4 separate regions of the Homo sapiens genome follow, and all the other regions are linked to region 1. The links are contacts of gene promoters, found by promoter capture Hi-C in human tissues and cell types (Jung and others, 2019). All regions are on one chromosome and are shown on one strand. Each heading gives the region's core, a stretch centred on a gene start or on the middle of the fragment in contact. The rest is flanking DNA. Distances are from core to core; before and after follow the strand shown.

Region 1 (2,925 bases), core at 154-2,653:
ATGGTGAAACCCCGTCTCCACCAAAAATACAAAAAAAAAAAAAAAAAAAAAAAAAGACTAGAAACTTCCACCTATGTCAGGCTGAAACAGTAGTTTCACACATAGGATCTTGTTCAGACCCTGGGACTTAAGAGAACATGTCGAATCCCTTTTCCGCTGGTCACTTTTCAGGTACATGAAGATGTAATCCCATCCCCGCATCAAGCTTTATTTCTCCAGAGGAGGATCTTTAATTCTTGTAAACATGGGACAGGTACAGGACATGTTATGATAATGACAGGTACAGGACATGTTATGATAATGACAGGTACAGGACATGTTATGATAATGACAGGTACAGGACATGTTATGATAATGACAGGTACAGGACATGTTATGATAATGACAGGTACAGGACATGTTATGATAATGACAGCTCTTCTTTAAATTTTTATTTTTTATTTATTTTATTTCCATAGGTTATTGGGGAACATGGCAGCTTTTTTTGAATACCCTCCTCTTTGCCAGTTGCCCAAGGTGGAACACCCAAACTTTGACATGATACTTCCATTAATGCAACTTAGTATCACAAGTTGATGTCGTGGCCCAGCACAGGATGGCCTGGAAACCGGCAACACTGGACGCTGGGGAAAGGGTAAGAAGGTCTTGACCATTACAAATGGTGTGGAACTGAGCCGAGGGAGGGATAGTGAGAAGGGAGAGAGGGTGAGGTGTCTGAGAGACAATGAGGTCAAATCAGAGGATTCAGCCATTGTTGGCGTGTGGGAAAGGGAAGGAGAAGGGAAGAGTCAGGGATGACATTTGTTGAGAGAGAGAGAGAGAAGAGAGAGAGACGCAGGTGGAAAGAGGATGGCACCACATTGGACTAGCCCCAACGGAATGGGGAGAAGTGGGAGAGGACCCAGGGGATGCAGAGCTGATGAGAGTGGGAGAACCAAGACAGAGGAAGAAGGTTGGGGCAAATCAAGTGTCTCAGGGAGGCCCAGTGAGGCAAGAACGGAAAGGAGAAAGGCGGCGGTTAAGAATCAGGGATAATGGCAGAGCGTTGCAGCTCTGCGGGTGGGACTGGGCGGAAGGGTTTGGGAGAGACAAAGAAATGATCTTTGAAGGCCTCGCAGTGCTTGGCCGAGTGCCTGGCACAGAATAGGTGCGCAATAAATGACGGGTGAGAAGTGAAGGAACTCAGGAACAGTGATTAGTGAGTGAGTGACGGAAGGAACGGAGGATGGCGTTGGCTCGGGAACCTCGCTGCCATGTCGGTGGAGGCTCCTGGGCTGCAACGCCAGAGAGAGGCGGGGCGTCCCCGACGGCCAATAGGAGCTTCGGTATCAGCTCCGCCCCCGCCCCCTAGCTCCGCCCGGTGCCGCACGTCGTTCGCCTGCCGCCTGAGGCGCGCGCAGCCACCCAGCTCCCGGAAGTGCGCCCGGAGCCGGCGCCGCGGGCCGAGGTGAGCGCGCTTGCGGGGCGGTCCCGGCCTCCGGCCGCTCGGGGTCAGGCCTTGCGCTATCTGCGTCCGCACCTGACTCAGCTGGGCACCCCGGAGCTACGGAGGGGCCAGCGGGCTCCCTTGCCCATGCGTCTGGGAGCGCGCGGGGGACGTGGCGAGTGCGGGGCCGGGGCAGCCATGGCTGGGAGTGGACCGTGGGTGCGGGGGGATGTGTGAACCCCGTCCCGGCTCTGCATTCCTGCGCCTCTGCGCCCCGCGGGACCGGCCGGGTCTCTGCACTGGGACCGAAAACGGGCTCCTCCCCGCTGTCTTCCCCTAAGGGCTGAAAATGAGTCTCTGGAAGAGGAAACCCGATGGGATGATGCCTGGAGTCTCTCCCTCTCTCATCAGAGTGCAGTCGGCATTTGGGGGGCGCATGGTGGAGAATACATATCCAATGAGCAGCGCTGCCCTGGCCTCGAGCACTAAATGCCAGTTCCCCTAGCTGCTTGTGACAACCAGAAAACGCCCCAACAAATCACCAGACGTTGGCAGTTCTCCCCAAAGCAAAGGCTTTAGAGCTTCCTGGGTTAATCTGGCTGCCACTTGTGAGCCTCGGAGGTTCCTGATCTGTACACCAGGGTAATTGTGGGAATTGGAAATACATGAACCGAGCTTAATAATGAGCCGATACGTAGTAGGTGCTTAACAAATGGTTACTTATATATGTAACCATGTATGTAACCACTTGTGTATATTACACCTAGAATGCACTTTTAAAAATTCATTCTATTTGTTAAAGGTTTAATAACAGGTATAACAGACAACCTTATTTTTTTTTCATAACTAATGGGGGCAGTTCCTCATGAGGTTATCGGAATATAAACTCTATTAAATTTTTAATACTATATAAAGTAATTTAATTTTGAATAATCGAGACATTTTTCTTACACACTACCTGGGAGTATAATATTACTAACAAAAGATTTAAGTATTTTATAAAATCTGTAGTTTTTCCAAAATGTCATTTCTCTTAAATATTATCTAAACTGCTATCTTAATTTAGGAAACAGATAAATTGCAGTAAGTTTACAGGTCGGTATCTTGCTATCTAAAATCTTGCCGCTTGTTATTTGAAACTCTTGAGCCAAATAGGTTGGATTTACAAAGCAAGGTATTTTTAAAAATATATTTATTCGTTTTTTAAGATGTTATTTGAAACTGTAGGTTTACCTCTGAGCTAAAGCTGCTTTTCAGGTGGTTTGATAATGCTGTCATTGTCACTCAGTATGAAAACATATTTTAATTTCCTTTGTGATTTTTTTCTTTGACTATGGGTTAAGAGCATTATTTAGTAATTTCCATAAATTGGGATTTTCTAGTTATTGTTATTGATTTCTACTTTAATTGCACTATGATCAGAGAATATATTTGAACCCAGGAAGCTCTAAAGTTTTCCATTTGACCTTTCTGGTTTTGTTTCTCTTGTGTTCCTTTTC
Region 2 (2,925 bases), core at 224-2,723, 440 kb after region 1:
AAGCTGTGTCTTCAGAGCCTCAGCCCTATGCTTTTTTTCTCCTAGAGTATGCTGCCTTCCAAAATCAAATATAGAGCCCAGGAAGACATGTCCTTCATATTGAATCTGCCATTAAAATGCTGCATTTATAAAAAATAACATTGGAACCCTGAAAAATACTTCATTAAAACACAATGCGCTTTCTTGAAAATACTCCAGAGCAAAATTTCCCAGATTCGGACAGGATGACAGGAAATGTATGTGGGAGGTAACATGCCAGCTCTTCTCAGGGCAGGCACCTTCTGGAGTCCGAGTGATTGGCAGCCCTTTCATTTTACCTTGGGTCAAGTGCACAGTTGCCTGTGGAAGGAATATGAAGTTGGAGGCTGGTGACAGACAAGGTATCTCTGAAGAAAATGGATTGAGTTTGATGGCAGGGATGTTGGCATGGATATTCCTCCATGCTTGGAGACTCAGGAGGCCCTCAAGTCTTTGTGGACAAAGGAGGATAAGTGACATACACAAGCAGGAAGGGGGCAAGTGTGTTGGAGCAGTGGCTGAGAGCCCTCAAGGATAGGAGTCTTTGGCCAGAGCAGGAGCTTCTGGGCTAACATCAGGCTGGGTTGGGAGCTTCAGGGGACTTGCTAGTGGCAGGAACCAAACTGACTATCACAGGCCATGACATCTCAAACCCAGAGCTCCATTCCCTTCCCTCCCAGAGCTCAGAGGGGAAAAGCCCTTGGCTCCGTGCACTGGGGTATCAACTCACAGGGGCAGGAGATGAAGGATACACCAGTGAGGCAAACAGAAGACCGAAAGAATGTCTTATTCTTCCATTGTTTTCATTGAGAGCTCTGATTTTTAGAGCTGGAGATTATAGCAAGACCAGGGAAAAGAAATTAGGAATGGAGGAAGGTGAATGGAGGAAGGTAGATGGAGGAAGAGGGAGATGAGAGGAAGGAATGAGTGACCTGGCCTGGAAATCTGAGGTTTTCTGGAAATCAGGAGTTTCTGGGAGGGAGAGTGGAAAGAGGGGAGGAGAAATTTGAATTGGGGGCAAGGTTGGAACTTTCTAAGAGGCAGTCGTGTGGCCCAAGACACTCCCAAGACACTGGGGGAGCCCTGAGGGCAGAAGCCTGGTTAGGAGGTGAAGTAATTCTTGGCAAAGCCTTTTTGACACAGGAAGGCATGGAGCCAGGAGCCTGGAGCAAGACAGGGAAGGTGGAGATGCAGGAGGGATTGTGAAAGCTTCAATGCCATCAGAGGCCAAGGAAACCAGGCAGAACTTTCAGGGCAGGAGAGAACCTGTGCAGATTCCAGTTCATTTCTGTTAGAGCAACAGAGATGTGCAAAAATGAATAAAACAAGGAGAGGGAAATCTTGGGCTTTAGGCTTCCTTTGTGAGCAGGAGGGAGGCTTTTACTGTAAGGGTGGATGGTACTTCTATGTATGGTAGAGGCCACCAGCCTGGTTGGGCTAGAAATCATGGCATCTAGGTTCCAGCCCCAGAAGCCTCTTTTATCTGCTACGTGAACTTGCCTATTGATGTGGCTTTGCTTGTTCCATGAAGATGGATGGGACAGCTGAATAAATGGGATACCTCTCTGTCCCAGCTATGACATAGTTTTCTGGATTTTGAAATGTGGGACTGAATTGGAGCAAGTCTGTAGACCTATCTCTACTTCTTTTTTCTTCCCTCCTCCCCTCCCTCCCTCCCTCTCTCCCTCCCTTCATTCCTTGCTTCTAGACCCAAAGGTGAAGCAGAAGAAATCCTTGAAAAGAAGTAAGCATTGCAGTAGAATTTTCCAACCCAACTGACATCAGAGCCTTTCAGCCAGACAGTGGTAAGGCTGGGATGAGAAATGTCTTGGAATCAACTCATCAACAACCCCTGAGAGAGACAGAAACCCTGTCAGAGACAGGGCTTGGGGAGGACCCCTGGGGAAAAGTGTCACCCTGGGGGCTGGAGAACTTGGTGCTGAGAAGCTTTGACACTGGAGATGGGATCAGCTTTCTGGTTTGGTGTATACCTGCATGTAGACACCTGGGAAGGGCATTCTCAGCCACTCAGGTCCTTTCCCCTCACCACCAGCATCCTGCCTTCCAAGGGATGGCCACAGATTAGACGATTCAAAGGTGCTGGGCTCAGGGGCCCAGCTGGGAGCCACCTGCTCTATTCAGACTCACTTCTTCCTTTCCAACCCTCTTAGCCTCACCTTCTGGAACAAACTCTTATAAACCCCTGGGGACCAGCCCTTAAGAAGGTTTATGTGTCTGTTGGGAGGAAAGCAGAGAGGGTAGTCCCTGGCCTTCCAGCCGCACGACTCCAGGAATGCATCCCCAGTGTGGGGTCTGACAGTGGCTTTCACAACCCCCAGCCTCCATCCCCCTAAGATCCAGGGTGATGGTTTCCTGTTCCTGTTGGGAGGCACACCCTGCAGAGGGGAGAAGGAGATGAGAGCTTTGGAACTCTTGAAATCAGTGAAAGGACACAGTCCATTGCTTTCTCTGTGGTTTGTGGACTTGGTTAGATTAAAAATCTCCAGGGCTGACACCAATAAATTCTCCTTCTACACTCGCCTTTTTAAAGGGCCATGAGTGCAGAACTGAGGGCAGGTAAAACCCCATTTATAAGGGCACTGCTGTTGGATCTGACTGTTTTTAGGATCACACCTTCACCCAATAGCCTGGAGTTGATTCCCCCAGCCCCAACCCAGCGGGTGCCCTGGCCCTGAGAATGAGGGAACCCCTTCTTTCCCCCACCAGGCTCTCTGGTCTTGGGGGAGCGGATGCTGCTGAATTCACTGTCACCTCCCCAGGAGGCCGTCACACCATGCCAACCCCCAGGCTGGAGGCGGGGAAGAGGCTGAGGTGGGCGGGCAGTGGCGGTCCCCCAACAGAGCTGAGGACCATGGTCTACCAGGTACCCCAGTGCCTGCACAAAGG
Region 3 (2,925 bases), core at 202-2,701, 410 kb after region 1:
GCTAGGGGTTTAACATATGAATTTTGTAGGAACAGAATTCATACCTTAAGAGAGATCATCTTGAAACAACTTTAGTTTAGATGTAGGATAATAACAACATACTATGCAAATAAACAAAGGCCTCCCAAATGAGAACAAGCAAAGGCTATGTCAAAAGAGTCAGCTGCCATCACTTACATTTTGGTATAGATTCAAAGGCAAGCAGAGGAGTGGGAAAGATTTGTAGCAGAAAGAAGGGAAGGCTTCATGTGTGCCCTGATTGGAGGCCTTTGGCCTGTGGAAGCTGGAGTTGGTTCAGTGGAAGCAGAACATCCATGTGATTGGTTAGGGGAACTTGTTTGGCTTTCGTCAGTTGGCCCTAAGTTTGGGGACAAAAATTAGAGAAGATACCAAATTTTTTTTGAATATAATATTTTTTACTTGAACCCCCACAACTCCACCTCTTCCAGAAGCTATCAATTATTAATCAAATCCTGACCATTTGAGTCAATAAATACAGGGGTTCTTGTTTGACCTCCTAGACTGGCTGCTACAGATTGTGAGGTGAGTTCTATTTTTTATATATGGCTTAGCCATTGTTCATTTGTCTATTTTGTCTCTCAGTCTTTTTTTTTTTTTAATCTGAGTTTTGAGACCATGGAAAATGTACCTTCATACGGCATTAATATGACTATCTACTGACTTCTAATATGTACTTCCCATAATTTGATCAATGTTCAGTCTCAGTGGTTTATGGGAGTTTCTGTTTCTGATTGTAGAAAGGTGATGAGAATGGAGAACGTGGGGTATGGTTAAGCTGGAGGAGAGGAGGGTAAAATATTATTTTGACTCCTTCTCATACTTAGGACCCATGATTAACAATCAGGGGTTAGCAAACTATAGCCCATGGGCTAAATTCAACCCACCAGCCAATACTGAAAATACAGTTTTATTGGAACACAGCCATGGCTATTCATTTATACATTATCTATGACTTATTTCACACTGAAAGTGCAGAGTTGAATAGTTGTAATTATGCAGAGAATGTATGGCCCACAAGACCTAAAAAATTAATTATCTGACTCTACAGAAAAAGTTTGCTGACTTCTAGTTTGGATTAGAAACTACCAAATCTCACAGTTGAGAAGGACTCAAGATGGGAAGGATATAAAGCAGCCTCAGTTTCATTAAATAAAACTCAGAAGTGCTTTGCTGTAACAAATCCATACACTCTTCTTCTAGTAACTACTCACCACTTTTTGTTGTGGAAACTATATCCACCTTCTTGACAGCCTCCTTCCCCGCCCTAGTCCAGGTACTTCTGGTAGGGTTCAACCCCCAGTACTATGGCTGAAGCATGTGACTTGGCCTAAACTTGGATCATTCTTTCTTCTGGTCACAGTCATCAATGTGGTAATGGCCATATGATCCTATCAGGACATTAGAGTCAGACCTAAGCTTTGGTTTGAATGTTGGAATAAACTAGTATTTTCTATTTTCCACTGGACTTGAACCTAGGAGGATGTAGGACAGAGCCAATGTGACCCTCTTGACTCCATGAGGGGAAGGGTTATCTGAAAATGGAGCCAAGACAAGGGAAGTAGAGGCAAGGGACAGAGAAGAGGAAGCAGTTCCTGATGACATTTTTTTTTTTTTTTTGAGACAGAGTCTCACTCTGTCACCCAGGCTGGAGAGCAGTGGTGCAATCTCAGCTCACTGCAACCTCTGCTTCCTGGGTTCAAATGATTCTCCTGCCTGAGCCTCCAGAGTAGCTGGAACTACAGGTGCATGCCACCATTCCCGGCTAATTTTTTGTATTTTTAGTAGAGACGGTGTTAGCCAGAGTGATCTCAATCTCCTGACCTCGTGATACGTTCGCCTTGGCCTCCCAAAGTGCTGGGATTACAGGCGTGGGCCACCGCGCCCGGCCCCTGATGACATTTTTGAGCTCTACATGCAGCCTGCAAGACTAGACTTTTCATTTGCATAAACCAAGACATTCTCTCTCCAGTTAGCCAGTTTGAGGTGTTTCTGTCCCTGTTAAACAAAAATTACAACTGATGCAGGTGACACGTAAAGAAAAATTTCTTCAAGAACGAGGAGAGATGATGTTTATTTATAAAGGAGAAGGAGGCCATCAAGGAGGTAGTTGAGAGCGAGAACATAAAAGAAGATATTTCCTGAAATAACTTCTATCGGAGATGTAAAGGGTAAACCTTCAATTGCTTTGCTTAGCACATAATGACCCCAGATCACAGACTTAGCTCTTGATTTTCACCCTGCTTTTGAATTAAGGCAGTAAGCCAGAAATTAATATGGGCAGATTTCCCTGTGTTTATTCACTGTTCAATGTTTAATTCCCAGAAGGATGAAAGAAATACTTACTTAATTAAATGTGCTAAACAATAACAACCCTCGCTTGCTTTTCACCTGTACTTGTCTTACAGAAATATGCTATGAAGAGTTGATGAAGCTATTTTTAAAACAAATTCCACACACTACTTAATTATAATAATCTATAGAGTGTAACTGTACATTTCCCACCCTAGGATACGGGTGGGCAGAACAAGAAACAGTGCAGAAAACACACCTTCTTCTCCTTTTTGTGATTGCAGGAATTCTTGGGGGTTGATGTCAACTTTCCTTCTTAGATGTAATCCCCTTGATTTGGGAGGAAATCACACATCTTATAGGTCAAGAGAGTCAACTCTTCTGGTGGTACTGGGATTATAAATTTGTGAAATATATGAAATATTCATTTGCAAGTACATGAGTAAATGAATTAATAGATGCACTATCAAAAGCATGAAAAAGTATGTTCACCTCTGAGCTGGCCAGGTGAGCCCAAGTATTTTCAGGACGCAATAGACTATTGTCCACTGAGAGTAGTTTTCCAGAGGTAACAGATGAATGCCCTTTGGGTATGCTGCCCTATATTCTGGTGGT
Region 4 (2,925 bases), core at 196-2,695, 390 kb after region 1:
TTTATCAAGAGGACGAGGCACAGTTCCCGCTTATCCCTGAGAAGCAGACTTCAGTTCCCTGCCAGCTGGTGGAATGATTTAAACTAGCCAATTGCGTCCCCCAGTGAGATCCAGGGACCACTACACCTTCTTGATACTATTAATACAAAGTGTGCTTTCCACAGCCCCTTGTCATTTAGTCTGTTCCCAAGAGCAATCCCCATGTGGCCTGCATGGCTCAGTGTCCTCTTCTGGGCTGTGAGTATGTTGACTGAAAAACTGCTGTCAATGGTGTCTGTCCTATGTTGGGTGTTGTATGTTTACCCATCTCCATCACTCTCAGGCAGGAATCCCTCCCTCATCAACGGGGTGAATAGGAGGTGATTAAATAGTCACAAAGGCCAGAGGCAAAAAAGGAGGACACAAGCAGATAAACATGACCTTCTGTCTACAGGTGGTGGGAAGGGCACCTTGAAAAGGCAAGCAAAGTTGAGGATCTTGAATCCATCTTTAGGGTGAACGTTAGGTTATTCTGGCCACCCAACATAGTTCCTCTTTTTTCAGTATTCATCCCCAAATCCATAGGTGAACATGGAACCAAATCTGAGCCAGTGAGAGTCAGGCCAAAGTGTCTTATGTGACTTTTCAAGGAAGAGACACCTTCTCTTTTCTGCTAGTGTGGAGCTTTTCTTGGTCACCTTCACAACCAATAGCGCCTTAGAATAAAGTTAATATGAGAGGAGAGTGCTTACAGATGGAGAAAGACCAAGTCTTGGTAACTTTGTTTGAGCTCCTAAATCAAGCTGCTCTTGAACTTTCCAAGCTAGTTTAAATTAGGTTTCTATTAATCGCAACTTAGAAACTTGTCAGTATACCGAGGTGGGCAGATCACGAGATCAGGACATCAAGACCATCCTGGCCAACATGGTGAAACCCTGTCTCTACTAAAATACAAAAAATTAGCCGAGTGTGGTGGCACGTGCCTGTAGTCCCAGCTACTTCAGGAGGCTGAGGCAGGGGAATCGCTTGAACCCGGGAGGCGGAGGTTGCAGTGAGCCGAGATTGCACCACTGCATTCCAGCCTGGAGACAGAGCAAGACTCTGTCTCAAAAAAAAAAAAAAGAAAAGAAAAGAAAAGAAAAGAAAGAAAGTTGTCAGTAAACTCACCCGGAATCTTTGACTGTCAAAATCTCACAAGTGATGGAAGGAGAATACCAGAAAGACAAACAGATGCTCATATAATGTGATGAGGAAGCTACCAATATATAAATAATCAAAAGGAAATATGAACTCATATGACTGGCTGGGTTATGATCAATAAGCCCCAGTGGCCGTGAAATAGAATACCTGGACCCAGCATGTTAGATTCTAGAGGATGGTCTTTGCCTGGTCTGTCTGGAAACATTCACTGAGCTGGGAACTTACAACAATCAGTAAAGGGAGCTCAAAAAGGAAGGAAAGTTTACAAATTAAGCTTTATCACATTCATGTTAAGAAAGAACCATTTGAACCCAGGGCAGAAGTCCTAACCGGGAAAGAGGATGAACTGGAATTTTCCTAGGATCTCAAAGGCAGGGACTCTATCTTATTTAATTTTTATATAGTCAGAGTTCTCTCCAGGATCTGGCATATAGAAAGCACTCAAGATGTTTATCAAATAACTGAATGTACACTGTCTGAAGAAAAAGGAATAGTTTTGAGTGGGGGTTTTAAGGGCTTTGAGTGACAGAAAAATAACGAATGTGAACTCTCTATGAAGTGAAAAGCAACTCATAGCCAGGTGCGGTGGCTCACGCCTGTATCCCAGCACTGAGAGGCTGAGGAGGGCAGATTGTTTGAGCCCAGGAGTCGGAGACCTGCCTGGGCAACATAGCAAGACCTCATCTGTACAAAAAAAAAAATAGAAAAATTGCCCGGTTGTAGTGGCGCATGTCTGTAGTCCCAGTTACTAAGGAGGCTGAGGTGAGAGGATCGCTTGAGCCCAGGGAGGTCGAGTCTGCAGTGAGCTGAAATCGTGCCACTGTACTCCAGCCTGGGCAACAGAGTGAGACCCTGTCTCGAAACAACAACAACAACAACAACAACAACAACAACAACAGACCAAAAAGCTACTCATTCATTTATTCAATGAGTATTTACTGAGCATCTATTATGTGCTGGTACTTTTCTAGGTGCTAGGAGGATACACCCGTGAACAAAACAGTCAAAAATTTCTGACCTCATGAAGCTTATATTCTAAGGGAGAGACAGTCAAGAAACAGTAAGTTCTGTGAATAAAGATAAAGCATGTGAAGGGAATCAGGAGTGTGGGGTGGAGGGGCTGCAATTGTAAATGTTGAGGTTGGCCTGACTGAGAAGATAAGATTTGAACAAAGGCTGGGAAGGATAGGGGGAGTGCTTTGCAGATCCTTGGGAGAAGTATATTGCAGGGAGAAGGAACAGCCAGTGCAAAGGCCCCGAGGTGGAAGCATGCTTGGTCTGATCAAGGAGCAGTGTGGAAGCAAGGAAAGCGGGGACAGAGTGATCCCAAAGAATAGGTGAGAGTAAAGGGAGTCAATTCACATGCAGCCTTGCCTGTGAGATTTTGATTTTTACTCTCAGAGAAATGGACATCATTGAAAGTTTTGAGCAAAGGAGTGCCATAGGCTGAGATCGTTTTGAGTAGGATCAACCAAGCTGCCGTGATTATAGGCTCTAAGGGGCAAAGGTGGAAAGGGAGGCCACCTACCAAGTTGGTGCTATAATACAGAAGACGGTGGTGTGGCACAGTGGGTAGTGGGGGAGATGGTAAGAAATGGCCTGATTCCATACAAATTTTGAAGGTATAGCCAATAGGATGTGTTAACAAATTGCTTTAGGAGTCGCAAGAGAAAAAAAAAGGGTCAGGATGACTCTAAGATCTGTGGCTTGAACAACGGGAAGAATGGAGTTGCTGTCAACTGATGT

The links. Contacts are between HindIII fragments. The study calls those that stand out against the background at their distance.
Region 2: a fragment that was not itself captured here is called in contact with the fragment with the promoter of ZNF18 in region 1 in 1 of the 25 tissues and cell types used here (heart left ventricle).
Region 3: a fragment that was not itself captured here is called in contact with the fragment with the promoter of ZNF18 in region 1 in 1 of the 25 tissues and cell types used here (spleen).
Region 4: a fragment that was not itself captured here is called in contact with the fragment with the promoter of ZNF18 in region 1 in 1 of the 25 tissues and cell types used here (H1 embryonic stem cells).

The regions. Positions count from the first base shown.
Region 1 is chr17:11,995,953-11,998,877 of GRCh38, reverse strand. It overlaps ZNF18 (zinc finger protein 18), which reads left to right and starts at 1,403. Exons shown (of 7, transcript NM_001303281.2): 1 at 1,403-1,447. RefSeq lists enhancers at 835-914, 985-1,224, 339-1,322 and a silencer at 1,255-1,704. The HindIII fragment of the contact is 7,782 bases long and covers 1-2,925 here.
Region 2 is chr17:11,559,695-11,562,619 of GRCh38, reverse strand. SHISA6 (shisa family member 6) reads right to left here. Exons shown (of 6, transcript NM_207386.4): 6 at 1-2,925. Among named protein-coding and RNA genes, the nearest start is that of DNAH9, 37 kb to the left of the region's middle. The HindIII fragment of the contact is 4,369 bases long and covers 1-2,925 here.
Region 3 is chr17:11,585,610-11,588,534 of GRCh38, reverse strand. No RefSeq gene overlaps it. Among named protein-coding and RNA genes, the nearest start is that of DNAH9, 11 kb to the left of the region's middle. The HindIII fragment of the contact is 7,192 bases long and covers 1-2,925 here.
Region 4 is chr17:11,604,630-11,607,554 of GRCh38, reverse strand. The region is part of intron 1 of DNAH9 (dynein axonemal heavy chain 9); the gene reads right to left. Among named protein-coding and RNA genes, the nearest start is that of DNAH9, 7.6 kb to the right of the region's middle. The HindIII fragment of the contact is 5,283 bases long and covers 1-2,925 here.